Regions from separate parts of the Homo sapiens genome. Here region 1 is linked to region 2. Evidence: promoter capture Hi-C in human tissues and cell types (Jung and others, 2019). All regions are on one chromosome and are shown on one strand. Each heading gives the region's core, a stretch centred on a gene start or on the middle of the fragment in contact. The rest is flanking DNA. Distances are from core to core; before and after follow the strand shown.

The links. The method cuts DNA at HindIII sites, captures the fragments that hold promoters and counts their contacts. A contact is called where the count stands out against the background at its distance.
Region 1: a contact is called between a fragment that was not itself captured here and the fragment with the promoter of CORO2A in region 2, in 2 of the 25 tissues and cell types used here (IMR-90 fibroblasts and mesendoderm cells).

What each region holds. Positions count from the first base shown.
Region 1 is chr9:98,714,252-98,720,423 of GRCh38, forward strand. No RefSeq gene overlaps it. Among named protein-coding and RNA genes, the nearest start is that of GABBR2, 8.4 kb to the left of the region's middle. The HindIII fragment of the contact is 4,212 bases long and covers 1,291-5,502 here.
Region 2 is chr9:98,189,150-98,194,878 of GRCh38, forward strand. CORO2A (coronin 2A) reads right to left here and starts at 3,488. Exons shown (of 12, transcript NM_052820.4): 1 at 3,410-3,488. RefSeq lists an enhancer at 2,341-2,995 and silencers at 3,148-3,197, 3,268-3,817. The HindIII fragment of the contact is 8,969 bases long and covers 1-5,729 here.

The sequences.
Region 1 (6,172 bases), core at 2,147-4,646, 530 kb after region 2:
CTTAGACGAAGAACAGGCTTAGGAAGCCTCTTTTCCTACCCCTCCAAACATATGAGTCCCTCTTTACCCCTTAGGGACAGTGGTGAGTTTTGGAGTCAGGCAGCCCTGGCCTCAAATTCTGGCTTGCTAAGTATTAGTGGTGCAACTTTGAGTAAGTTACTTAACTTCCCGAGCTTCATTTTCTCCATCTGTAAACTGGGAACAATAAAGGTTCCTCTTTCATAGGGTTATTGTGAGGATTAGATAATGACAATAGCTAACACATAGTGAGCATTCACATGTGCCAGACACTGTTTAAACCACTTTACATGTAATTATCTCCCTTATTAAGATAATGCATATAAAGTTCTTAACACAGTACTAGGTACTTATTAGGCATGTAATAAATAATTATATTACTGCTAAAGATGGCAAGATCAGTGCCTGCTGAGGTTCCCACTTCATTACTTGATTCATGAGGTTTTCACACATTTTTTTCTTAGGCTCCACCAGTAGGCCTTTCTACAGCTTTTACCGGGTTTTAACCTGTTGCAGGAGTCCACAGCACTCCCTCTCACCCATGGCAGTTCCTTCCCAGAGGTAGTTCCTAGGCACCCCCTCACTCTCCACCTCTAGCCAAGTCTTCTTCTTTGGGAGAAATGCCCCCAAACCTCCCCTGGCCACAAGTCTAGAGTCTGCTCATGGCTCTCCTCAAAGACATTACCCAGAACCAACCACAAAACCCTCCACCTGGGCCAAGAAAGATGTAGAAGAGCATGGCTGCCCTTCTGTGCTCACACCTGTGACTGCTGTCCCCACTGTCCTTATAGTCCAGATTTACCCACATTTTGCTAGCAGCTGCATCACCCCTTTGGCTTATAGGAAGCTTGTGGTTCTCTAAGAACCCTAGGTTTGTTTTCTATGGGGTTATTGTTGCTGATGCTTCAAAAGAACAGCAAGCCACATCTCTCTAACATTACTTATCAGCCGTTTAATTTGGAGGCCTCTGAATAGGATTGAAACATTTCACCTTTGACCATGTCCTGATGTTGCAGCCTGTTGAAGGCATCCTTGTGTGGTGAGTCTCTTATCACTCATATTCACCATCCCTCTCAGTTAATGCCATTGTCATTGCACAATAGGATTTTCTTTCTCATCCTATAGCATTAGTCAAAATGTTAAATAGGAGAATGCCAAAGACACACCCTGTGACTGCCCACACTGGGGGTCATCTGCCGCCTCTGGTTCTACAATTAAACCTACTGAAAATTGCTCCCAACTTCCACATTCTGCAGTCCTCATTTCTCTGTCTTGCACTCCTGAAAATCATGAAAAGCCTTGCTAAAGCCCGGCTGAAACCCTGATACATGCTACCTCTTAATTTCTCTGACCTGTCAGATGAATAACTCCATGAATAAGGGTGGTCGTAACTGGGCTGGCTCTTGGTGAACACAACCACCGTAGGGAGCACTGCTCTCCTCTGTGTGATCACACATCATTTATCCAATCAGCTCTTCTCAAACGCTGCTGACAATAAACACCCAAATCCCCTACTGCTGAAGTCACCATTTTAGGCTCTTAGGAAACCTGAACCCTGCTGCATCCCCTGCCACCTAACCCTCCCTTTCACTCATCTCCCAAAGATCCTTCAGATGCTCTTTCTGGATCCTAGCTACAGTGTCCTGCTGTCTTGACAGGTACTTCATCTGGCCCTGGAGACATAGGCTCGTTGAAAGCTTCTAGGTGCCCTCTAACAGTCTCCTCATCTTTCATTTTATGCTTGCTCCACTATCTCCTGTTTGCTGGTCATTCTCCACCCAATACATCCTGTGTGCCTCTGTTACAGGCCTGGAGATGAGAAAATTCTGCATTCTTTTCAACAAACGTCCACGCTTTCTCCTAATGCACCACACAAAGTCCCTTTTGTGGTCCATGGCATTATCCCAACGCTTCAGGTCATTCTGGGATTGAGCGCTTGCAGGGTCCAACAGCTTCCTGATACCTCCATTCCAGATCCTGACTTTCAGTTTCTCTCCATGGCCCTAAGTATGTTTCATAAATTTTATTGAAATATAACAGACAGTTCAATGAATTTTCCCAAAGTGAACACACCCATGTAATCACCATCAAGAACCAGAACATTACCAGCACCCAAAAGTCATGTTGCTGGCCAGTCACTCACCTTCTCAAGGGTGACCACCATGCTGACTCTGCTAACACTGTAGATTGGGTTTTGCCTCTTCTTGGGCTTGATATAAATGGAATCACCATCTGTCCTTTTGTGCCTGGCTTCTTTCACTCAACATCGTGAAAGTTATCCATATTGTTGTATATGATTGTAGATCTTTTATTCCCATTGCTGTACAGCATATATCCTTCAGAGAAACTCTCCTGCAGGCCCCTAAGGAGAGATGTACAAGGACACTTACAGTGTTGTTTGTAAAAATGGAGAGTTAGCGGTAGCCTTGGCACTTATTGCCTTTATTGCACTTTTAAAAATCTGACATCATCACAAAGATCTGAGTATATGATTTTCTCTCCACCCACCCCCAACGTGGCTGGTTGCAGTCTCACTTGTATATATTCCTACGTCTATTCTTACATTTCTCCATGCTATCTTTCATTTATCCCGCCAAACTGACTTTTCCAAATCTTGTCACCCCCCAGCTCAACACATTCGATGGCTCCCTATAACCTCTGGGGTACAAACTCCCACGCCTGGTATTACAAGCCACTTACAATGTGGCTCCAATGTTTCCAGCTTTAGCAACCAGCTCTCTCTCCCCACACCTTTTATATTCTAACTACGTAGAATATATTAGCTGGCCCATAAACATGAACCCCTTTTCTGCCTCCATACCTTTGCTCATTCTATTCCTTCAACTTGGAACACTCTTCCCACTCTTTCTCCCACTGACAAAATCCTTCAAAACTCAGGTCAAATGTCACCTCCTTTGTGATATCTCCTCCAGTCACTCCAGCAGAAATAATTGCTACCTTTTCTCAGCATCCATAGTAAGGCTTGGTTCATGCTGACAGATAATACTTATCATTTCTTTAAAAGTTAATTACCACATTTCACCATTCTAACACACACGTTCTTATTCATCTCTGGAATCAGGATGCACTTTGCCATTGATGGCATCTTATAGTTGGAAGTATTCTTTTTCTTTCTTGTTGATACATAAAATAATGGTGTTTAAGATTCAGTGAAATACAGTATTTCATTTTTATCTCAGCATATTCTAGAAAAGCTTGTCACACTGCATTGTATAGTTAGTTGTCTACAATTCTGTGTTCCTTTTCATGTGTGAGGCCATAGGCATGCACAAAGTCAGCAATCTGTTCAATGAAGAGATGTGCACCGTTCACTAGTACCTGAACATTTACTAAGTCATGGGAGGTGATGTGGCAGGGAAGACCTCCTAGTGTGGTTCTTCATGAGGTTCCTCACAAGGCTGAAAGAGTTACCCTTTCCTCCTGAGGTGCTGAGGCCCAGGAGACAGTGGTGGAGGGCTGGAGAGAGCCATAGAAGTCTCTCTTCCTTGTGGCTGGCTGTCATGTCAGCTCGCATCGGGGCAGGGGAGGAGAAGTTACATAGGATTAGTTTAATGCCCAATCCTTGATCAGCAAAGCAAGCTTCATTCAATTATAACATCATTCCTATTGGGTAAATAGGATTTGCTTCTCAAGGATCTGATTTATGGCCTGGTTTTCAGGAGCATGCTGTGATAGAAAGCAGTAGCATCCTGTTGTGCCAATCTCATTCCAAGCCTCTCTTTTTGAGTAACAACAGTGAGTCTTTTAATTTGCTTTTTCCTAATGAAATCAGTTATTTCTCCTGCCCACACCACCACTCTATGTTATATTAAATAACAAAGGACACAGATAGGCTGGCATCTGACTTTAGTGGTATTTCAGTTACCTTTTGCCCATTTCTTAATATTTCAGCCTTTCAAATTGTATAGACAGTTTAGGTAAAGGCCAGTATGTTTGTCTTAGTCCATTTGGACTGCTATAGCAAAATACCTTAGACTGGGTATTTACAAACAGAAATTTGTTGCTCACAGTTCTGGAGGCTGGGAAGTCCAAGAGCAAGGCACCAGCAGACTTGATGTCTGGCAAGGACCTGTTCCTTGTAGATGGTGCCTTCTGTGTCCTCACATGGTAGAAGGAGGACACAGAAGTCACCATCAAGCCTCCTTCATGAGGGCACTAATCCTATTCAAGAAGGTGGAGCCCCCATGACCCAATCACCTCCTAAAGGGCCCACCTCTTAATACCACTACAGTGAGGATTTGGTTTTAACACAAATTTGTTTTGTTTTGTTTGAGACAGAGCCTTGTTCTGTCACCCAAGCTGGAGTCCAGTGGCACGATCTCGGCTCACTGCAACCTCTGCCTCCCAGGTTCAAGTGATTCTCCTGCCTCAGCTTCCCGAGAAGCTGGGATTACAGGCATGCACCACCATACCCGGCTAATTTTTAATATTTTTGGTAGAGATGGGTTTTCACCACGTTGGCCAGGCTGGTCTCAAACTCCTGACCTCAAGTGATCCGCCTGCCTCGGCCTCACAAAGTGCTGGGATCACAGGTGTGAACCACTGCGCCCAGCTGGTTTTACTACAAATTTTACAGGGACACAAACACTGGGACCATAGCAGTGTCCTATTGATTTTTCACATGCTTCTGAAGTTTGGAATTACAACATAGTCAAATGCTTTGGGATGATCCACTTTATATGATGAATGATACTCTCATATATTGTGCAAGATATTGCACTATCCTGCCTGCACAAGACCCCATGAATTCAGATGGATCTGTGGCTACGTTTAGAGGATTGGTTGAGGAGAAAGTTTGCTCCTGTGTTCATTAGGATTACTGAACAAGGTAGCAGTTTTATAAGGTTTCCTCCAGTTTCAGGTTGGCTTTATAAAGAATCACTGCATGTATCAGGTATTGCTTTCTGTTGGGTGGTTTTCCTGGGTATTTCAAGGGCATGGGGATTGCCAAACCGATGAGCATGATAAAGTTCAATTGCATGGCCATCTGGACTTCCTTTGGGGAGTTTCTTTGATTGATATCTTTATTTTGTCAGGATCCAGGAAAGCACTTAATTCTTTCATATGATGTTCATTATCTTTTAGCAAATGAGATGCCTCTGGGAATTTTCTAAATTCCATCTTCTCCTTCAGAAAGGATACCATAGCTTGCAATGTGAAAAAAACAATAAATAAAGTTTCTTTCTGTCAAGTGGCACACTCTGGCTAATAAGTCTAAGGATAAGGAATAACTGGAAGGGTAAAAACAGATTTATTTTTCACTTCATACCCTTCTATACTGTTTGAATTATCTCTTACCATAAGCATATATTCCTTTTATTTAAAAAAAGGTTCTTATATCATTTTGCCATTTTGTTATTGCTTTTGTTTCTATTTTTATCCTTTTCTTCTTTTCCTTTTGTGAAGTTTGTGCAGAGGATGACAAGTTCAGTTCATTTAAAAAAACTCCAACAACAAAAGAGCAACCAACCCACCATATTTGGTTTCTATATTTACTATTGTTTTTTTCTGTTTCAATTTTCTTTTTATCTCTGCTCTGGTCTTTCTCAATATTAGATTTAACCTTATATAGAAATAAATTTTTAAAAAACTATGTCAGTGTCTCTAAACTTTGGGAGGGGGAGCTGTTAGGAACACTTTAGAGAATCTGGTGTGGGGGTGGGCGCGGTGGTTCACACCTATAATCCCAGCACTTTGGGAGGCTGAGGTGGGCAGATCAGCTGAGGTCAGGAGTTCGAGACCAGCTTGGCCAAGATGGTGAAATCCCATCTCTACTAAAAATACAAAAATTAGCTGGGTGTGGTAGCATGCACCTGTAGTCCCAACTATTCAGGAGGCTGAGGCAGGAGGATCACTTGAACCCGGGGGGTGGAGGTTGCAGTGAGCCGAGATCACACCACTGCACTCCAGCCTGGGCGAAAGAGCGAGACTGCATTTAACAACAACAAAAAAGAGTCTGGGGGAGCTACAGATTATCATGCAAAGGAAAGTGCAGGCAGCTTCAGGGGTCATGCCCTTCCCCAACCTGAGGCTAATATCTTTTCAGTGCAATCTAGGGTATATTACCCTTTGCATATATCATTGCATGTAATTATGTTTAATAATTATGTGAGGCATCTGTATGCCCACTTTT
Region 2 (5,729 bases), core at 2,238-4,737:
CAAAAAAAGTCACATACTGGCCGTTTCATGTGGTTTAACCTAGTAAGTTTCCCATAGCAGCCTGCAGACCCCCAGGAGGCACAGTTTGACCACAGAAGCAAAGTCACCTACTCCTGGCCCTTTAGACCAGGTGTGATTGCAAAGCACGTCCAATCTGTTCTGAAGGAGGCAAGGCATGGATTATAGACTTAAAACACAAGAAGATTCTGCTGAATTATTTTCTGGACCTCCTGAGATTTGGCAGAGAAGATAAAAACACACCAACTTCTAAAACGATCCAGCTTCTGGCCATTTTGAAATAGCAAAGGTTTAAGGCTGAAACCCCTCGGTGGGGAGCTAGCTACCTGCCTCTAAGGGGATTCATTTAATGAATCTCCTTCCAATCTCGGCTTTGCTACTGAGATTTGTTCACTCTAAGAGGTTGGCTGTCAGAGCTCAAACAAATTCAGCAACTGCTGAGTCTACCCCCATTTCACAGATGGAGAAAGTGAGGTCCAGAGAGGGGAACGGATCGGCCCAAGGTCACACAGTAGGGAAGAGGAAGACTTCAATCTGGAATCTATGTCTGCTGACTTTAGTCTCATGGTCTTTCTTCTGGATTAAACTGTTTCTATGCTGGCCAGACTCCGGTAATGTAAGCTTCAGTGCCACTATTTTTTAAGCTGTATTTGTCAAATGAAATGTTTATTAAGCCTCAGATAAAACTGAACACTTCTTCACTAGACGGCAACTCCTTTATTTTTTTTTTTTTTTGAGATGGAGTCTCGCTCTGTCGCCCAGGCTGGAGTGCAGTGGCACAATCTCGGCTCACTGCCACCTCTGCCTCCCGGGTTCAAGTGATTCTCCTGCCTCAGCCTCCCGAGTAGCTGGGATTACAGGCATGTGCCACCACACCCAGCTAATTTTTATATTTTTAGTACAGACAGGATTTCATCATGTTGCCCAGGCTGGTCTCAAACTCTAGACCTCAGGTGATCCGCCCACCTTGGCCTCCTAAAGTGCTAGGATTACAGGCATGAGCCACTGTGCCTGGCCAGAAGACAACTTCTTACAAATAACAGCACTACATATGTCTCTCTCCCTAGTTACTTCCTTAGGATAAAGTCCCCAAAGTAGCCGGCTAAGGGCAAAGGGCAAATATGATCATTTTCATGATAACAGGCTGCCAGGTTGCTCTGCAAAATTAAATGCCACAGGCGAATCCCTATAGCCTTGCCAGCACAGAGTTTCATCTTTTTATTTTTATTTTTGCTAATTTTACAGGAATAAATACAGACTGCTTTCATTTATTATATGTTATGTGTTTTTTTGGAGAAAAAAAGGCACTCCAATCTTGGAATCAGGATCCCTGGGCTCGGTTGCTGGTTTGCTGTGTGACCTTTGCCCAGTCACATCCCCTCTGGCGACAGGGGATGCCTATCTGTAAAATGAGGGGGTTGAATGAGACGACGTCTGAAGGCTCCTTTCAGCTCAGACATTCCATGATTCCATGGTGCATTTAAAAAGTATTAGCAATTAAAGTCATAGCATGACTTTTTAATAACCAGAATCTGCCATGCTCCTAAATCAGGCCAAAAAGGCTTGAATTAGGCAAGCAGGAAAACAGGGCCCAGATTATACATGTGTCGAGATGACAGGAGACCCAGGTAGCACTTAAGCCTGTGCGTCGGAGCTGGGCTCATGGGCCAGCACATATACTTTGCCTGCTTTTACGAGGGGATAATAACACTCATTTGTGGTCCAGCTCCCAGTCCTGTGCAGCTCCACCATGGCCGCAGGGCAAGGTCATAGGCACTACTTCAGCCCTAGAATTCCATAGACTTTCAGTCCAAGGTAGCTCACCCCCAGGTTCTGCTTGAATACCTGTGATGACAAAGAGCTCACTACCTGTCCAGGGGCCTCCTGCCCTCTTTTGGCTGTTAAGAAAATCCCTGGGTGCAGGGCAGGTCATGAAGGGGACAAGAAAGACCAGGAGGCTGAGAAGTGATTCCTAGAAACTGCTCCCTCAAACAGGGCAGGCATCAGGGAGGTGGAGAAGAGGCCCCATGGGGCAGGAAAGGCCTGCAGAGGGGCTCCGGCTCTCCTCACTCCGGACCTCTCAGACGGTCCCCAGGAGGGGCAGGAAGCTGGGGAGACACATTCCAGTCCTGATGCACAGGTGGGTTCTGAACAAGCCCCAGGAAAGCGGAGGCCCCACAGCCTGCTCCAGGGCAGACACCTCGGCTCCCTCTTCTTGCCTTGGCTCCCTGGGATCTGATGGGAGAAACTGCTGGGCCTGGGGCTGCTGGGTCTGGAGATGAGCATATTTAAGGGACCTGACCACTGCCCCAGGGTGAGGGAGGAAGGGTCAGAGGTTGTTTGTGTGTCCAGAGCAGGACCAGCAGGAGAGGCAGTGACTGGGTAGCAGATTCCAGCTTGGTTTACAACTAGTGAGATTCCTATCACAAGGAGTGTGCAAGGGGGCAGCAAGACCTTCCAGAGGGGATCTTACAGAGGGGCTGGGCCAGATGCCATAGGTCTTCTTTACCTAGGGAGCCTGGGACCACAGTCCCTCAGACCTGTGCTCTGCCCCATCCCTTAATGCCACGCGGACACAGCACCTTGGCACTGTCACCCCTCTGAGGTCCAGGCGTGGCCGCCAGTCACCCCTTGTCACACCAGCTAGTGTGTGTCACACCTTATCACACACTAGCTCTGGGACACAGAGCTAGGCACCAGCACCTGGCCCGGGTGGGGAAGGGGAAGGAGCTATCCTATACCACTCTCTAAATCGAGGTGCCTACGTGGGGCTGGTCCAGGCAGTCGTGCCGCCAGGAGTCCAGCCACCTCCAACCTAGGGCTCCTCCAGCCCCAGACGAGTAAACCCTCTTGGCGGGCCGGCTGATGCCCCACATGCACGCCCAGGCCGGCTTGGCGGGGACCCGGGGATGCCCCCCACCCCACCGTTTCCTGTACCAGGAAGCTGAGGCCCAGCAGGTAACGCAGCCAAGAGGGGGAGGGTCCCGACAAGAGTCCCATGGAGCACCCGGGCCACAGCAGGGGCCTGTCGGGACCGGCTGGCCGCGCCCAGAGTGAGCTTCCCTCACCGCGGGCAGGAGGGGTGGGCGGTGCAGACAGTGCTCATGAGGGCAGCGAGCCGTCGGGAGCCCGGACCTCGAGGCGGCCCCTCCCAACAACCCCGCGAGAAGGGGGCCACCAATGAGCAAGCTATCCTGACGGGGAAACTGAGGCCTGGAGAGGAGCAGTGCTTTGTGCAAGGTCACGCAAAGGGGCTGAAAGCCAGGTCCCCCGCGCTCCGAGCCCCGCATCCCTCCCTCTCCGGGAGCTGCAGCCGCAGCGCGCACGTCCCGCCCGACGCCCCCATCGCGCAGACCGGGAAGGCACGGCCGGCGGCGCAGGGCCGCCCTACCTTGATGACTGCCGCGCAGGTGGCGGTGGCGGCGGCGGCGTCCAGCTCCGGCTCCGCGCTCCTCGCCGCCCGCCGACTCCCGGCGCCCAGAGCCGCCGCCGCCTCCCCCTGCAGCCCGGCGGGCGGGGCCGGAGGGCGGGGCGGGGGCCTGGCCCAAGGTCCGCCCTTTTGCCCGCCCCGCGGGTCCGCCCTGGCCACCCTTTTCCGCCCCCACGACCCCGACCGCGCTCCTGGCTCCCCGGGGCGGGTCTCGGGGCGCGCACACGTGCTGGGAACAGGCGCGCACACGCCGCAGTGATTGGGGCGGGCTGCCGGCCACCAGGCGGAGGCTGGGGACAGGCAGAGCCGCGGGCCCCACGTCGCGCCGTGCCCTCGCTGCGTGGTGTGGGATGAGGAACCTGACCTCCCGGAGCCTCAGTTTCCCCCGTTGTGAAATGGAGACAGTAACCGCGTCGGCCTCTTAAGGCTGTTTGAGCCCTGGATGTGACGATCCCGGCCGGGTACAGTGCGCGCGCCGAGCCCGGCCAGGGAAGCGCTCCTTTCCCCGAGCAGTTACAGCGGTTACCGAGGCTTCCCCGTCCGCAGGGAGGAGAGGAGCCGGGAGCGCCGCTGGGAACCGAGGAGGACGCCCTTCCTTCTCTCGGGACCAGCCGGGGGCGCTGCTGCCAGCCTCGCTGGCTGGAGAGCCCTGAGGACACTAGACAATGGGGAGGCCCTACCTTTGGGTACCACCCCCACCTAACACTACTGAGCCACGCACTCCTCTAAGCGCCTTCTGTGCATTACCTCGCTTCACTGTCACACAGGCCTATGAGGTTGATACCATTACTCACCTATTTAACACAAAAGAGCTGAGGCACAGAGATATTAAGTACCTAGGTTAAGATCACCCGGCTAGTCATGCAACCCCAGGCAGTATGGCTCCCACGGCTACTAAGCTAACAGCCACTCCACTCCACACCACGTCTGTGAAGAGCTCTTGGTTTTGTTCAGTAGAGACGGGTTATCTTGAGGGCCTTGAACTGCTCCGTGGCACATAGTAACCACTCAATATATAGTTGTGGAGTGGATAACAGAGTACACTGTTACTACTTTACATATCTGTATCGTTTCTTCTAAGCTTCTAATAATAGTGGCTTTATTTAGCCACTATTATTACCTCCATTTTACAGATAAGAAAACTGAGGCTTGGAGTGGCAAGGTACTTAGGGAGCTCTTGATTCTCTCCTTAGAATGTGACTCAGCTTCCATAGTCCACTGTACCACCCCCCTGCCCAGAGCTGGACGGGCTCCCTGCCTACCACCCAAAGCCCAGTGTGCACTATGGTCCTGAAAACCCCATCCTACAGCTCTGATTCAGACCTTCTGGAGCTGGATTGCCCAGCAGGTAGACTGAACGCATGCTTCTGGTGTTAGCGTGCAAGAGTTGGGTATCAAGCATATGGATGGCTGGGCGCAGTGGCTCATGCTTGTAATCCCAGCACTTTGGGAGGCCAAGGCAGGTGGATTGCTTGAGCTCAAGAGTTCAAGACCAGCCTGGCCAACATGGTGAAAACCTGTCTCTACTAAAAATACAAAAATTAGCCGGGCGTGGTGGCATGTGCCTATAGTTCCAGCTACTTGGGAAGCTGAGGCAGGATAATCACTTGAACCTAGGAGGTGGAGGTGGCAGTGAGCCGAGATCACATCACTGCACTCCAGCCTGGGCTACAGAGTGGGACTCTGTCTCAAACAAACAAACAAACAAACAAACATATGGATGAAATCAGAACATTGTGGGAATTCTTTATAATCATGGTTTGGTTTTTACTTGAATTACAGCTGGACGGTGGGCACCATGATCTTTCCCAGGCTAAGGCATCTGAATAACTTTGTTGTTGTTGTTTTTGCATGGTTTTGTTCTGTCGCCCAGGCTGGAGTGCAGTGGCACAATCCTAGCTTGCTGCAGCCTCCACCACACAAGCTCAAGCAATCCTCCCACCTCAGCCTCCCGAATGGCTAGAACTACAGGTGCGTGCCACCATGCCCAGCCAATTTTTATATTTTTTGTAGAGATAGGGTTTCGCCACGTTGCTCAGGCTGGTCTCCAACTCCTGGGCTCAAGCAATCTGCCTGCCTTGGCCTCCCAAAGTGCTGGGATTACAGGTGCGTGCCACCACGCCTGGCCTTGAATGTCTTAATTCACTTAGGGCTTGGGCCAGCATCTCTGGTGTGGCTTTCTACCTCTGCCAATGCCACTCGCCTTGCACTCTGACATCTCTGAGCCTTTGCTCTGTCTGCAGTTCTCTTCCCAAATCATCATCTCCCTTGTCTAAACCCA